2 separate regions of the Homo sapiens genome follow, and region 2 is linked to region 1. The links are contacts of gene promoters, found by promoter capture Hi-C in blood cells and fetal thymus (Javierre and others, 2016). All regions are on one chromosome and are shown on one strand. Each heading gives the region's core, a stretch centred on a gene start or on the middle of the fragment in contact. The rest is flanking DNA. Distances are from core to core; before and after follow the strand shown.

The links. The method cuts DNA at HindIII sites, captures the fragments that hold promoters and counts their contacts. A CHiCAGO score of 5 or more calls a contact.
Region 2: a fragment that was not itself captured here is called in contact with the fragment with the promoter of NAP1L5 in region 1 in 1 of 17 cell types (total CD8 T cells); the score reaches 6.8 in total CD8 T cells.

Annotation. Positions count from the first base shown.
Region 1 is chr4:88,694,100-88,700,823 of GRCh38, reverse strand. It overlaps NAP1L5 (nucleosome assembly protein 1 like 5), which reads left to right and starts at 2,995. Exons shown (of 1, transcript NM_153757.4): 1 at 2,995-4,911. The coding sequence starts at 3,070. The coding sequence ends at 3,618. All of the region lies in intron 23 of HERC3 (HECT and RLD domain containing E3 ubiquitin protein ligase 3), which reads right to left. RefSeq lists an enhancer at 2,846-2,905. The HindIII fragment of the contact is 2,584 bases long and covers 2,276-4,859 here.
Region 2 is chr4:88,277,121-88,282,959 of GRCh38, reverse strand. PPM1K (protein phosphatase, Mg2+/Mn2+ dependent 1K) reads left to right here. Exons shown (of 7, transcript NM_152542.5): 2 at 4,318-4,816; 3 at 5,717-5,817. The coding sequence starts at 4,377. Among named protein-coding and RNA genes, the nearest start is that of PPM1K, 4.5 kb to the left of the region's middle. The HindIII fragment of the contact is 1,892 bases long and covers 3,644-5,535 here.

The DNA of each region.
Region 1 (6,724 bases), core at 1,746-4,245:
TTAAATATTAACTATTGCCAGAATTTCTAGCCTTACAGCCTACCCTGCAGATTTCGGGTTTGACAGCCCCCACAATCACATGAACCAATTCTTTAAAATAAATCCCTCCTTGCCCCCACCCCCCTCGGCTTCACACCCTGTTGGTTCTGTTTCTCTGGAGAACACTGACATATAGATTTCGGTACTAAGAAGTACAGTACTACAACAGCAAATACCTAAAAACGCAGATGTGCCTTTGAAATGAGGAAATAGGTAGAGCCTGAAAGAGTTTTGAGGAGCTTGATAGAAAAACCTAGATTTCACTTAAGGGACTATTGGTAGAAATAGCTCAACAGTCTCAGGAAGCAGCCTGAGACTCTCACCATCTACATGCCCAATCTTGAACCTTTTAGCTAGCAGCCTCCGGTCTTCCTTTTTAGCAACACTAAACAGATTAAAGCCACTTTGGGAAACAGTGTGGCAGCTTCTTATGAAGTTAAGCGTACATTTACTGTATGACCCAGCAATCCCACTGCTAGGTGTCTACCCAAGAGAAATAAAAGTCCATGCTCATAGAGAAACCTGTAGATGAATGATCACAGCATTATTCACAATTATGAAAAACTGCAAACACCACAAATGGGAATACTACCCAATAATAAAAAGTAAAATAAAAAATAATAAAAAATAAATTTACTAATATATACAACAACATAAATCAATCTCAAATGTACTCTGCTAGTAAAAAAAAAAAGCCAGGCTCAAATGGCTACATTCATATGATTCAATTTACCTGACATTCTGGAAAAAACAGAGGTACTGAGACAGAGAACAGCACAGTGCTCACCAGGGCTGGATGCTGGGGAAGGGCCACAACGGACTTTTAGGGGACTATTTACTGTTCTATATCTTGATTACTACAGTGCTTACATTACTGTATTTGCTTGTGAAAGCACGCCCAAAAGGACAAATTTTACTGTTATGTAAATGATACCTCAATAAGCCAGACTTTTTAAAAAACAGTCTGGTTTAACACTAAGTTTTAAGATCTGTTGAGACAGGAAAATAAAAATCTTGAAAGATGAACATGCCCTAAATATTTTAAGCAAGTTAAGTTAGTCAAATGAATTTAACCAAAATGTGGGATTTTTTTTTTAAAGTCTGTCACAACATCCATACTATAGGGGTCAAAAGGCCTGTTTTCTGCCCCTGCATCTGCCAATTAAGTGATACATGCAGTAAGATGATTTCACTGTATTTGCTTCTAAGTTTACTATCTGTAAAATGAGAAACATCATTCCTAATCTCAAGGCAGCTGTAGCCATCAAAAGAGATGATATATGGGAGTGAGAAAGAAGGCAGAGAAGATGGTGAGCCAGTAAGAAGATGGTGAGCAGGGTAAAGAAGACGGTTGGGGGAAGGTGGTGAAGACCGTGGGGGAAGGTGGGGAAGAAGACAGATCGTGGGGAAGAAGATGGTGGGCAGGGTGGGGAAGAAGAGGGTGGGGCTGCGTGGGTGGGTGGGGAGGAAGAGGGTGGGGCTGGGTGGGTGGGTGGGGAAGAAGAAGGCGGGGCTGGGGGTGGGTGGGAAGAGGGTGGGGCTAGGGGGTGGGGAAGAAGAGGGTGAAGAGGGTGAGGAAGAAGAGGGTGAGGAGCGTGAGGAAGAAGAGGGTGAAGAGGGTGAGGAAGAAGAGGGTGAGGAGCGTGAGGAAGAAGAGGGTGAAGAGGGTGAGGAAGAAGAGGGTGAGGAGCGTGAGGAAGAAGAGGGTGAAGAGGGTGAGGAAGAAGAGGGTGAGGAGCGTGAGGAAGAAGAGGGTGAAGAGGGTGAGGAAGAAGAGGGTGAGGAGCGTGAGGAAAAAGTTCGGTGGGGGGAAGGTGAGGAAGAAGGCAGTGGGTGAGGAAGAAGGGGGTGAGGAGGGTGAGGAAGGTGGGGAAGAAGAGGGTAAGGAGGGTGGGGAAGAAGAGGGTGAGGAAGGTGGGGAAAAGGACAGTGCGGCGGGGGGAAGGTGAGGAAGGAGGCAGTGAGTGGGGAAGAAGGCGGGGAAGAAGATGGGCAGAAGGTGGGGCATAAGTCAGTGCGGGGGAGGGGCAGGAGGGAGGGAGAAGATGTGGTGTGGAAAGGTGTGAAAACAGATAGTGGGGAAGGCAGGGAAGCAGACGGTGTTGGGGGAAGGCAGGGAAGACGAATGTGAGCGGGGTGGGATAGATGGCACATGCTTTAACCAAGATAAGAGGGGGCCTTGGCCCTGGGCCCCATGCTTTAGAAAGACTTGCTTTTTTTCAGCCCTCCTCAAGCTTTAGTCCTTCCCACAGGCCAAAGATTCTGTAGGATCTTCTAGAACACACACCAGGACACCGGGAGCTCTGAGATTTCCTACCCAAATGGCTCCAAAACTGCTTCCAGGGGAGTCCTGCTGAGAGACGACCTTGCCACCAAGATATATGCCGCTAGGTGTGTGGGATGGCCAAGGGGGTGTTGGGTGGACACATAGGTACAGAGCTTGGATATGCAAGCTGCCCTATCCACACACATGCACCCCAGGTCCCCAAAGGGGTGGAATGGAGCCAGCTTGCCCGTTCCTCCACTGCATGGAGAGGAATGCGGAGGAATCTAAGAGGTGATCAAACGCCAGCTATGGAGAGAGATGCAGAGGAAAGCGAAGACATATGCACTGGCATTTGTAGAAGGGCCTGGATGGGGGTGAGGAGCACACGGAAAATGGTCTGAGGCCATCTATGCAGTTCCTGAAGAAGCACCTCGGGCAGCTACTGACACTCCCAGCCCAGCTCTACAGGGGTGGGTACATGGGTGGGCTGGGAACAGGGTGTCTGTCCAACAGGCGGGTGTTGAGGGCCCAGAAGATGTCAGGGTAGCAACAGGAGGAATCTGGTGCAGTATGAGCACACGGCCGTCAGCTGATAGTGGGAAGCCAGTCAAGTGCCGCGAAAGCAGGAGGCGGGGCCGCGGCCAACGTCATTCCCGCGGCCGCACGTCACCGCCACTTGCCGCATCCGCAAGATCTCTCTGGACCAGCTCGGGTGCAGGGCCTCTGCGGGAGCCCTCCTAGACCTCTGCGGCTTCTCCTCTAACATGGCCGACTCGGAAAACCAGGGGCCTGCGGAGCCTAGCCAGGCGGCGGCAGCGGCGGAGGCAGCGGCAGAGGAGGTAATGGCGGAAGGCGGTGCGCAGGGTGGAGACTGTGACAGCGCGGCTGGTGACCCTGACAGCGCGGCTGGTCAGATGGCTGAGGAGCCCCAGACCCCTGCAGAGAATGCCCCAAAGCCGAAAAATGACTTTATCGAGAGCCTGCCTAATTCGGTGAAATGCCGAGTCCTGGCCCTCAAAAAGCTGCAGAAGCGATGCGATAAGATAGAAGCCAAATTTGATAAGGAATTTCAGGCTCTGGAAAAAAAGTATAATGACATCTATAAGCCCCTACTCGCCAAGATCCAAGAGCTCACCGGCGAGATGGAGGGGTGTGCATGGACCTTGGAGGGGGAGGAGGAGGAGGAAGAGGAGTACGAGGATGACGAGGAGGAGGGGGAAGACGAGGAGGAGGAGGAGGCTGCGGCAGAGGCTGCCGCGGGGGCCAAACATGACGATGCCCACGCCGAGATGCCTGATGACGCCAAGAAGTAAGGGGGGCAGAGATGGATGAAGAGAAAGCCCACGAAGAAAAAAGCCTGGTTTTGTTTTTCCCAGAATATCGATGGACTTAAAAAGGCTCAGGTTTTTGACCAAAATACAATGTGAATTTATTCTGACATTCCTAAAATAGATTAAATTAAAGCAATTAGATCCTGGCCAGCTCGATTCAAATTTGACTTTCATTTTGAACATAATAAATATATCAAAAGGTGTTAAAGAAAACTGAATTAAACCCAAAATTATGTTTTCATGGTCTCTTCTCTGAGGATTGAGGTTTACAAAGGGTGTTAGCAGATGCGAAGTAAAGAACGTCACTTTGAAACCCATTCATCACACAGCATACGCTACACATGGAACACCCAAGCCATGACTGAACACGTTCTCAGTGCTTAATTCTTAAATTTCTTTACTCATGACATTTCGCAGTGCAGAGAAGGCAGAACCCAAGAAAAACGTCATCTTTGAGACTTTGCTTTTGTAACGCAGACATCAGCTTTACACTTCACAGGAGATTGATGGCATTGAGGAAGATTGCAATGGAGATCATGACACTACTGTTAATAAGGCCAGGAAAACTGCCATTTCAAGTTCTGAAAAATGTTTTGAGTATTTGAATTTAGAGAAACAACATGGTTCCAAGAAGGAGGGTGTAAAACCTGTAAAATACTGTCAACATATGTATTCATTAGTTACAATCTCATGTTTGTGTTTTCTTAGTACTGTCTATTTACAAACACGTAAAAAATACCCCAAATATGTTTAAGTATTAAATCACTTTACCTAGCGTTTTAGAAATATTAATTTACTTGAAGAGATGTAGAATGTAGCAAATTATGTAAAGCATGTGTATCCAGCGTTATGTACTTTGCGCCTTGTGACGTCTTTCTGTCATGTAGCTTTTAGGGTGTAGCTGTGAAAATCATCAGAACTCTTCACTGAAGCTAATGTTTGGAAAAAATATATACTTGAAGAACCAATCCAAGTGTGTGCCCCTACCCCCAGCTCAGAAGTAGAAAGGGTTTAAGTTTGCTTGTATTAGCTGTGCCTTCATTATTTTGCTATGTAAATGTGACATATTAATTATAAAATGGTGCATAATCAAATTTTACTGCTTGAGGACAGATGCATACAGTAAGGATTTTTAGGAAGAATATATTTAATGTAAAGACTCTTAGCTTCTGTGTGGGTTTTGAATTATGTGTGAGCCAGTGATCTATAAAGAAACATAAGCTTAAAGTTGTTTATCACTGTGGTGTTAATAAAACAGTATTTTCAAAAAATATATATAAAAGACTCGGTACTGTGACTGCCTGCATTCAAATCCCAGCTCTGCCTCCTATTAGTAATGTACCTTAGGCAACTCAGCTAATACTCTCAGTGGCCAGTTTCTCCTCATCTACAAAAGGGAATAGGAATAGTCCCTTCCTCATGGGTTACTATGAAGAGCAAATGGATTAATACATATAAATCCTATAGAATAGCATCCAAACCATGGTAAGTGCTGAATAATTCTTAGCTATTATTATTACATGAAAGATAAAGACAGTGATTGGAAATTCAATCCTCCTCTCCTGTTACAAAATGGGAGAAAGAGACATCACTACATCCCTCCCTATGTTTTTGATTCCTTATTATGAGAGAAGAATGTGGCCTTTAATTCAGAAATGCAGGAAATTAAATAAACTATCTTGTTTTGGTTTCCTCAATATAATATCAGGTTTTTATCATCTCCCAGAAAGGATAAAAAAGGCTATTTCAACTTTATGTTTGCTTCATTCTGAATGAAGCAGAAAGTTTTTTTTAAAAACTGGACTCCAGAAAAATTAAAAAATCAGATGCCATTTGCTTCCTTTTCCCTGAAGGGTTAAAATTACAAAGAAGCAAAATTATATTGCTTTATCCTAGGGAATGGAAGGCAGCACTGACCTGTTGCTAATCACAACAGATTGTTGAGTACAAACAACCTTAAGGTAAAGTTAATCTTCATTATGCTCAGGCCAACCAAAAGAGAAAATCAGAATAATACGTTACATACAAAGTTCTGATTATCTTAATCATATGATTATCTTAATAGAGAAAAAATCTAATAAAATTTAATATTGATTTCTTATATCCAGGAATGAGAGAGACTATCATTTTACTATTTTTCTGGTTCCAGTAAAAAGCAAAAACGATTGAAACACAACTAAGAGGCATAAGTATTGGGAAATGTTTTTTACATATAGAAAACCCAAGAGAATCAACTGGAAAACAATTCAATTTAATAAGTTTGATGAACTGACCAGTTATCAGATAAATACACAAAAACCAATAACCATTTATAGGCACTAATAATGATCAAAATATATGTGAAAGGCTCTCAGAGTAAAAATAAGAAATCAAAACATTTATAAAACCTCTAATAAGAAATGTGTATGACCTATGTAAAAATAAAAAACAAACATAACATAAGCCTTTGGATAGTAAGACTGAATATCACAAAAACGTCAGTTCTTCCCAAATTAACTTTTATCACAATTCTAATCAAAACTCAAACTGGATCTGGAACCTAATATAATTACCATAATGTTCACCTTAAGAACAGCTAAGAAAACCTTTAGCAATTTGGAAACAGTTTAGATTTTTACCTCAGACTACAGACTAACTGAAGAAAATATATTAAATATCAATTACTGGACAGGGAATGGCTAGGATTAGAGTGGTATAAGACCAAAAGAAATAACACACATGACAACACAAAAATTAAGAAATCACAGAGTTAAAGACACACTCTACATTTTCAAAACCAAAAACAGAGGATAAAACCTACAATAAATATGGATGGCAAAGGGTTAATAGTCATAAACATAATGAAGAGTTCCTATGAATCATATGAAAATTATTAAGTCCTACTAGAGAAATACATAAAGGACATCAGCAGAGTCTCTAAAAAGAGGAAAGACTGCAAACCCTGCCTGAGGCAGAAAGAACTCACCTAATGCTGCGTGTTCCTGAACCTGCAGCACTAGGTGAGCCGGGGCTCTGGCAGGGTCTAGAGACAAGTGTTCCTAGCTATGTGCTCTGGCCAGCAATCTTTCTTTTGTTTATGATAAGATTT
Region 2 (5,839 bases), core at 3,340-5,839, 420 kb after region 1:
CACCCAGGCAAATTCCTTGACTGCAATCCTTAGAGACGAGGAAAGAAGAGAGGAGAGTGGCTGGTGACATAATAGACTGTGAAGGAAAGTTCTTAAAGGCATTATAAAGTTACAGGTTTGGGATATAGTCTGTGGCTTGTATGCATATTTACTAACGTGTCTTAAAAGATATCTATGGGAATAGAATACTGAGTACTTTTCACTGCTCACATTTCACACTTTTCTCCAGTCACACATCTGAACATAGACATATTCACATTAAACCTAAGGGGAGTCCTTTGGAGTTTTTATTGTTGTTTTCTTTTTTCCCCTCAGGTAAAGCAGTAAATTTTCTTTCCCTTCCTCCTAGCAGGGTATTGAGAAAGAAGGTATTGGGGTCCCAATTAGCTGAAATACATTCTGGAAATTTCCATACTATTTGAATTTACTGGGATGCCTTAATTGATTTTCTAAAAAGGTCGATAGGTAAATATTTGGTTTAAGAATATTTAAAAGGGCTGTGTTCTCATTGTGGAAGTTGTAGATACCTAAATGCCACTTCATAATGGGCAGATAGGAATGCTTTCTTAAAATATTTTTTCTAGAGGGATAAAATCTAAGCAGGTTTCAGAACTTTAGAACTCCTGAATAATTTTGGCATGTGCTTAAACTGCCCTTTTGACCTGCTTTTAACATACAAGAACAGTTTAACTCAAATCCAGTGCACCTTCCTGCCAGAGAAAGTGCTTTCCTTTTGGATGACTTGACTTCCAAAGATTGAATATAATGTTAAAATGGTTTATAAAAATAAACTAGCCATGTTTTCCGATCAAAAAATTGACCTAAATCTCCCCTGCTTACTTAAAAAGATTCCTTCTCTCTCTTAGTTTGTGGAATAATGAACTCATCCCAATTTTTAATTGCTGAACTGACAAAAGACAATCCTTAGGTGTTTGCTAGTTTGTTCTCCACTCTTTTTGTTTAGAGAACACTGATTGCTTTTTTTTTTTCCTTAAGGTTTTTGTTTTTCACATCACAAGTTCTACTCCCCTTGCCTTGCTGGTCAAAGCATAGTCATTCCCATGGGCATCGGCAGAGCTGTGGGGTCTATGATGGCAGATCCCAATTGTGGAGTTCTGGAGGAGGAAACTTTTCTTAATGTGCAGGTTTAATTCAAAGTTGTTATTTACTTTGGGAACTCCAGCTGCCTTTGAATTGTTTCTTAGGGAATATGGAGGGGATTGATATGATTTAGTTACATTGCAGATGGAAAAGGACATGGAGCCAGTTCGTAACATCTCGTTTACCTAAGCGATGCCGACCTGTTTGTTTGTTTTTTATAAACTAGCTATATATCTGGGTCACATTTCATCTCTGCCAATAATATGCCTTAAAGTAGGTGGTTTCCTATGACTGCCTGCTTTCTGAGATGATTATAGAAACAATACACGAGGAAGGATGCCAGGTTGATGATTGATTTTAAAATACGCAGGTTTTTAGCCTTACAGAAACTGCTCAATTTGCATTTTATCTCATTTCTTAAAAATGTTTCCAGTGGATATTTGTTCTCTGTGAGAATGCAGTTCTATTTTATTATTTAAAAAAAAATTGGGGGGAGGATAAAGAGGAGATAAAACGGCAAGAATATACTAGAACAGTTGCAGAAAAACTTCAATATTTATTTATTTGTAATTCCAGAACTCTGATTTAAAGTAGGTGCATGACTGCAAAGTAGCTCAAGGCTGAATATGGCATATATACTTTCAGACCGAAGCCAAAAGAATAGTATTTTGCTAATCTCAAGTTAACTCTTCAAATACAAATATTTTCTAATAATTGTATTTCTTTAAAGTTCTTTTTTTTTTCTATATGATATAAAGCTGCTTTGGGAATTATCTCCAAATAATTAGTACTTCCATTACCTGGTAGATTGTATTGTAGTTTGAAGTCTCAATTCATCACCTATAATTAACATAATTGGGTTTTTAAATTTTTTTTAACACACCATTGCTGGCTTGAATCCATAATTGTTGCTGAATAAAATCTAACTCTCAATTAGAAGCAAAAGAACAAACATCTCTTGCAATGGAATGTGTTATTTCTCTCTCTCGCTCTCTCTCTCTTTTTTTAAATAGACAATGTCTTGCTCCATTGCTCAGGCTGGAGTGCAGTGGTGTGATCTTAGCTCACTGCAGCCTCTGCCTCCCAGGCTCAAGCAATCTGTCCACCTCATTTTTGTACTTTTTGTAGAGACAGGGTTTCACCATGTTGCCCAGGGTAGTCTCAAACTCCTGGGCTCAAGCAGTCCTCCCACCTCAGCCCCCTTAGTAGCTGGAACTACAGGCATGCGGAACCACGCCTGACTAATTTTTGTATTTTTAGTGGAGACAGGGTTTTGCAAAGTTGCCCACTGGTCTCCAACTCTTGGCCTCAAGTGATTTGCCTACCTCGGCCTCTCAAAGTGCTGGGATTACAAGTGTGAGCCACCGGGTCCGGCCATGTTAATTCTCTTTGATAACCAGAGATGCTGTGTCTCTGCCACTCTCCAACCCCCCAACAATGTTGTCTTACGAAGAAATGAATTTCAGCCTTCTATGCAGGATCTTGGCCAAAAGGCCAAGAAGGGATGACTTCCTAAGTCTTTGATGATACATTACTTGTTTTGGTGGCCATCTTTATTCTAAATTCTGTGACAGCAGAGCTCATATTTTTTTTAATTGCTTAAATATCTAAAGATTGAGGCCAGTCTCTGTGGCGCATGCCTGTAATTCCAATACTTTGGGAGGCTGAGGTGGGAGGATCACTTGAAGCCAGGAGTTCAAGAGCAGACTGGGCAACAAAGTGAGAACCCATATCTACAAGAAATTAAAACAAATAAACACCTAAGGATGTTCTTTGGAACCTCATTCTTTCTTTTGACTGTTTTACCCACCGAAAGAAGTAATGGCCTTCCCTATACATAGCTAGACTGATTTCCAAAAATTCATTGGAAAGTAATTGTTTGAAATCTGTAGTGCATTTTCTCATAACTGCACTCAAGCTGGGTTTCATTTGTGTATGTTTATACCTTTTGGAAAGATACATTTTTTCAAGTTCATTTTTTATTGTGAAATAATTTAAACATAAGATTGAGAATAATATACTATCTGTAGACCATCCACCAACATCATCAAACCTTAGTATTCTGCCATCTTTTCAAGTTGATTTTAAAAGAATAAAGTAATAGAACAAAATCCTATGGAGACAAATTTTTTATTTGTGTGGAAAATTCCCAGAAACAGCTCTACCTGCAGTGGGGTAGGAGTTCCCCTGGGTAACACCCTGTAATGCCAAGAGAGGTTTTAGGATTGAGTTTCAGGGTGGAGTCCAGAAATGGGGGTGTAAAGTAATCGTTTCAAAGAAGTGTAGTCTCAAGTGTCGTTGGGTTGTTAGGGTTGGGGAAAGGAGAGCTGCAGCTGTGAATGTAAATATATAGATCACTCGTTCAGAAATCAGGGCTGCTTGTCACAAATGCAGTGCTGCCAGGTTCCTGAGATCATACCCACATACCCTCCTAGTGAGAGAGTCTGCTAGGATGGGGAGCATCAAAACTGGCTTATCTTTGTGCCTCTGGGGTGTTTGCACACCAATTTATATTTACCATAGTAATATAGTATGTAAAGCTTAGTAGGTTAAGAAATGTTAAAATAAAACTTAGATTTATCCTAGATTATGTTTTTGTTAAAACTTGGCCATTCTTTGGAAACAGAACTATTTTAAGTATTCTATTAGCCTGTTATTTTTTCCTGAAGAGACTTTGTTGCTATTGTTAATATTTATCCCTACCTTTTCTTTAAAGCAATAGAGTTAATGAAGGGAAGTATATTTATTTATACCTGTATTCTGTGTTCTTGCTACTAGAAGTGTAACTTGGGGACCAGCAGCTTCTGTATCACCAGGGTGTTGGTTAGAAATGCAGAGTGACTCCACCCCATAGCCACTGGGTCAGAACATGCATTTTAACAAGTGATTGCAGGTTCAAGTTTAAGAGATACATGTTCTGTGTATGTGCACACTGTTAAATTTTTATAGAATTTAAATGCTGTGAATGCGGTAGGAAAATCGATTCATTTTTGATCCACTGTTCTTAGAAGCAGGCTACTGGATGCCTACCCAATATATAACATAAATATATGTATTTTCTGTCAAATCCTTTATGAGCTTCATTTTTGGTAATATTTGATGACATATCAGTTATATTCAAAATTTCTGATGGTCTCTCTCTCTCTGTCTCTCTCCCTCTCCTCCTCTGCCCCTCTCTCCCTCTGTCCCCTGTGACTTGCATCATTTTTCTTGAAGACATTCCATTATTGTTCCATTGACCTTTCCCTCATCACTGAGTCCTTTGGAGCTGAGTTATGTCAACAGCTGCCTTAATTACTTTGGTCAGAAGTGGTGGGAACCAGGTGAGAAGGAGAGTGCTGCTAAGCTCCCGCCTGCTGCAGGACGACAGGCGGGTGACACCCACGTGCCACAGCTCCACTTCAGAGCCTAGGTGTTCTCGGTTTGACCCAGATGGTAGTGGGAGTCCAGCTACCTGGGACAATTTTGGGATCTGGGATAACCGCATTGATGAGCCAATTCTGCTGCCACCCAGCATTAAGTATGGCAAGCCAATTCCCAAAATCAGCTTGGAAAATGTGGGGTGCGCCTCACAGATTGGCAAACGGAAAGAGAATGAAGATCGGTTTGACTTCGCTCAGCTGACAGATGAGGTCCTGTACTTTGCAGTGTATGATGGACACGGTGGACCTGCAGCAGCTGATTTCTGTCATACCCACATGGAGAAATGTATTATGTATGTACAATGACTTTCACTCCTGACTTTGCAGTTCCTATACTTCCTACTTAAACTTTCACCCTTTGGCTGAGGCTTCCAGCGTAAACATAGTTACTTGAGTGGTTGCATGCTGCTGCTTCACGAATGAGCAGTAGTTTAAGTGTGCCATTTATTACTTATGGTTATCACAATTTCAGAAATGCATGTTTTAACAACTCCCCTGGGGAAAGCATTAACCAAAATCTATAGCACTTAATTTGTGATCATTTTAAGTGAAGTGGCATAATGTACATGAGATAACCTATGAGAAGCATTTACTCCCATCAGTGTAGGACAGATAAGTGCTTCAGTAAATGGTAATTACTCTTTCAAGTGGTGTGAATAGCTTTGAATACCTGACTTGTTGAAAATAGCTTTGGATGATTGGCATTAGTGTGGAAAAATGCATTTAATGCAGGCATTTTGGAGCTCTTCCGTTTATTTACTTCAACTAGTATTAATGCATTTTTGAGGATCACATTACTGCTAAAATTGAAAGAGGGAGAACATGTGATGGAGTTACGACCATGTGACTATTTTTGACTTCCCAGTGACCATTTCTTGACTTCCTGTGTATACCGCATTCCACGAAAGAACTCACAATGGGAAGGAACTCTCGACCTCTCAGGGTTGTGGTAGTGAGGATCAATTCTTCAAGGACAAGGACTTGGACTTTCATTGTTGTGCCCTTAAAAGCTTATCACAGTGCCTGATACTTTGTGGATTCTCAATAGGTATTCCTTAGCCAGTAGGTCTTCAGCATTTGACAGGAAAATCCTGAGGCCCGTTGTGTGGAATGACTGCTAGCTAGAGTAACAGTGAGGAGAAAAACCTATTGTAAAATGATTGTTTAAGGCTCTTTTTTTCCTCCCCACAAAGGGATTTGCTTCCTAAGGAGAAGAACTTGGAAACTCTGTTGACCTTGGCTTTTCTAGAAATAGATAAAGCCTTTTCGAGTCATGCCCGCCTGTCTGCTGATGGTATGTAAAACTATCACATTCC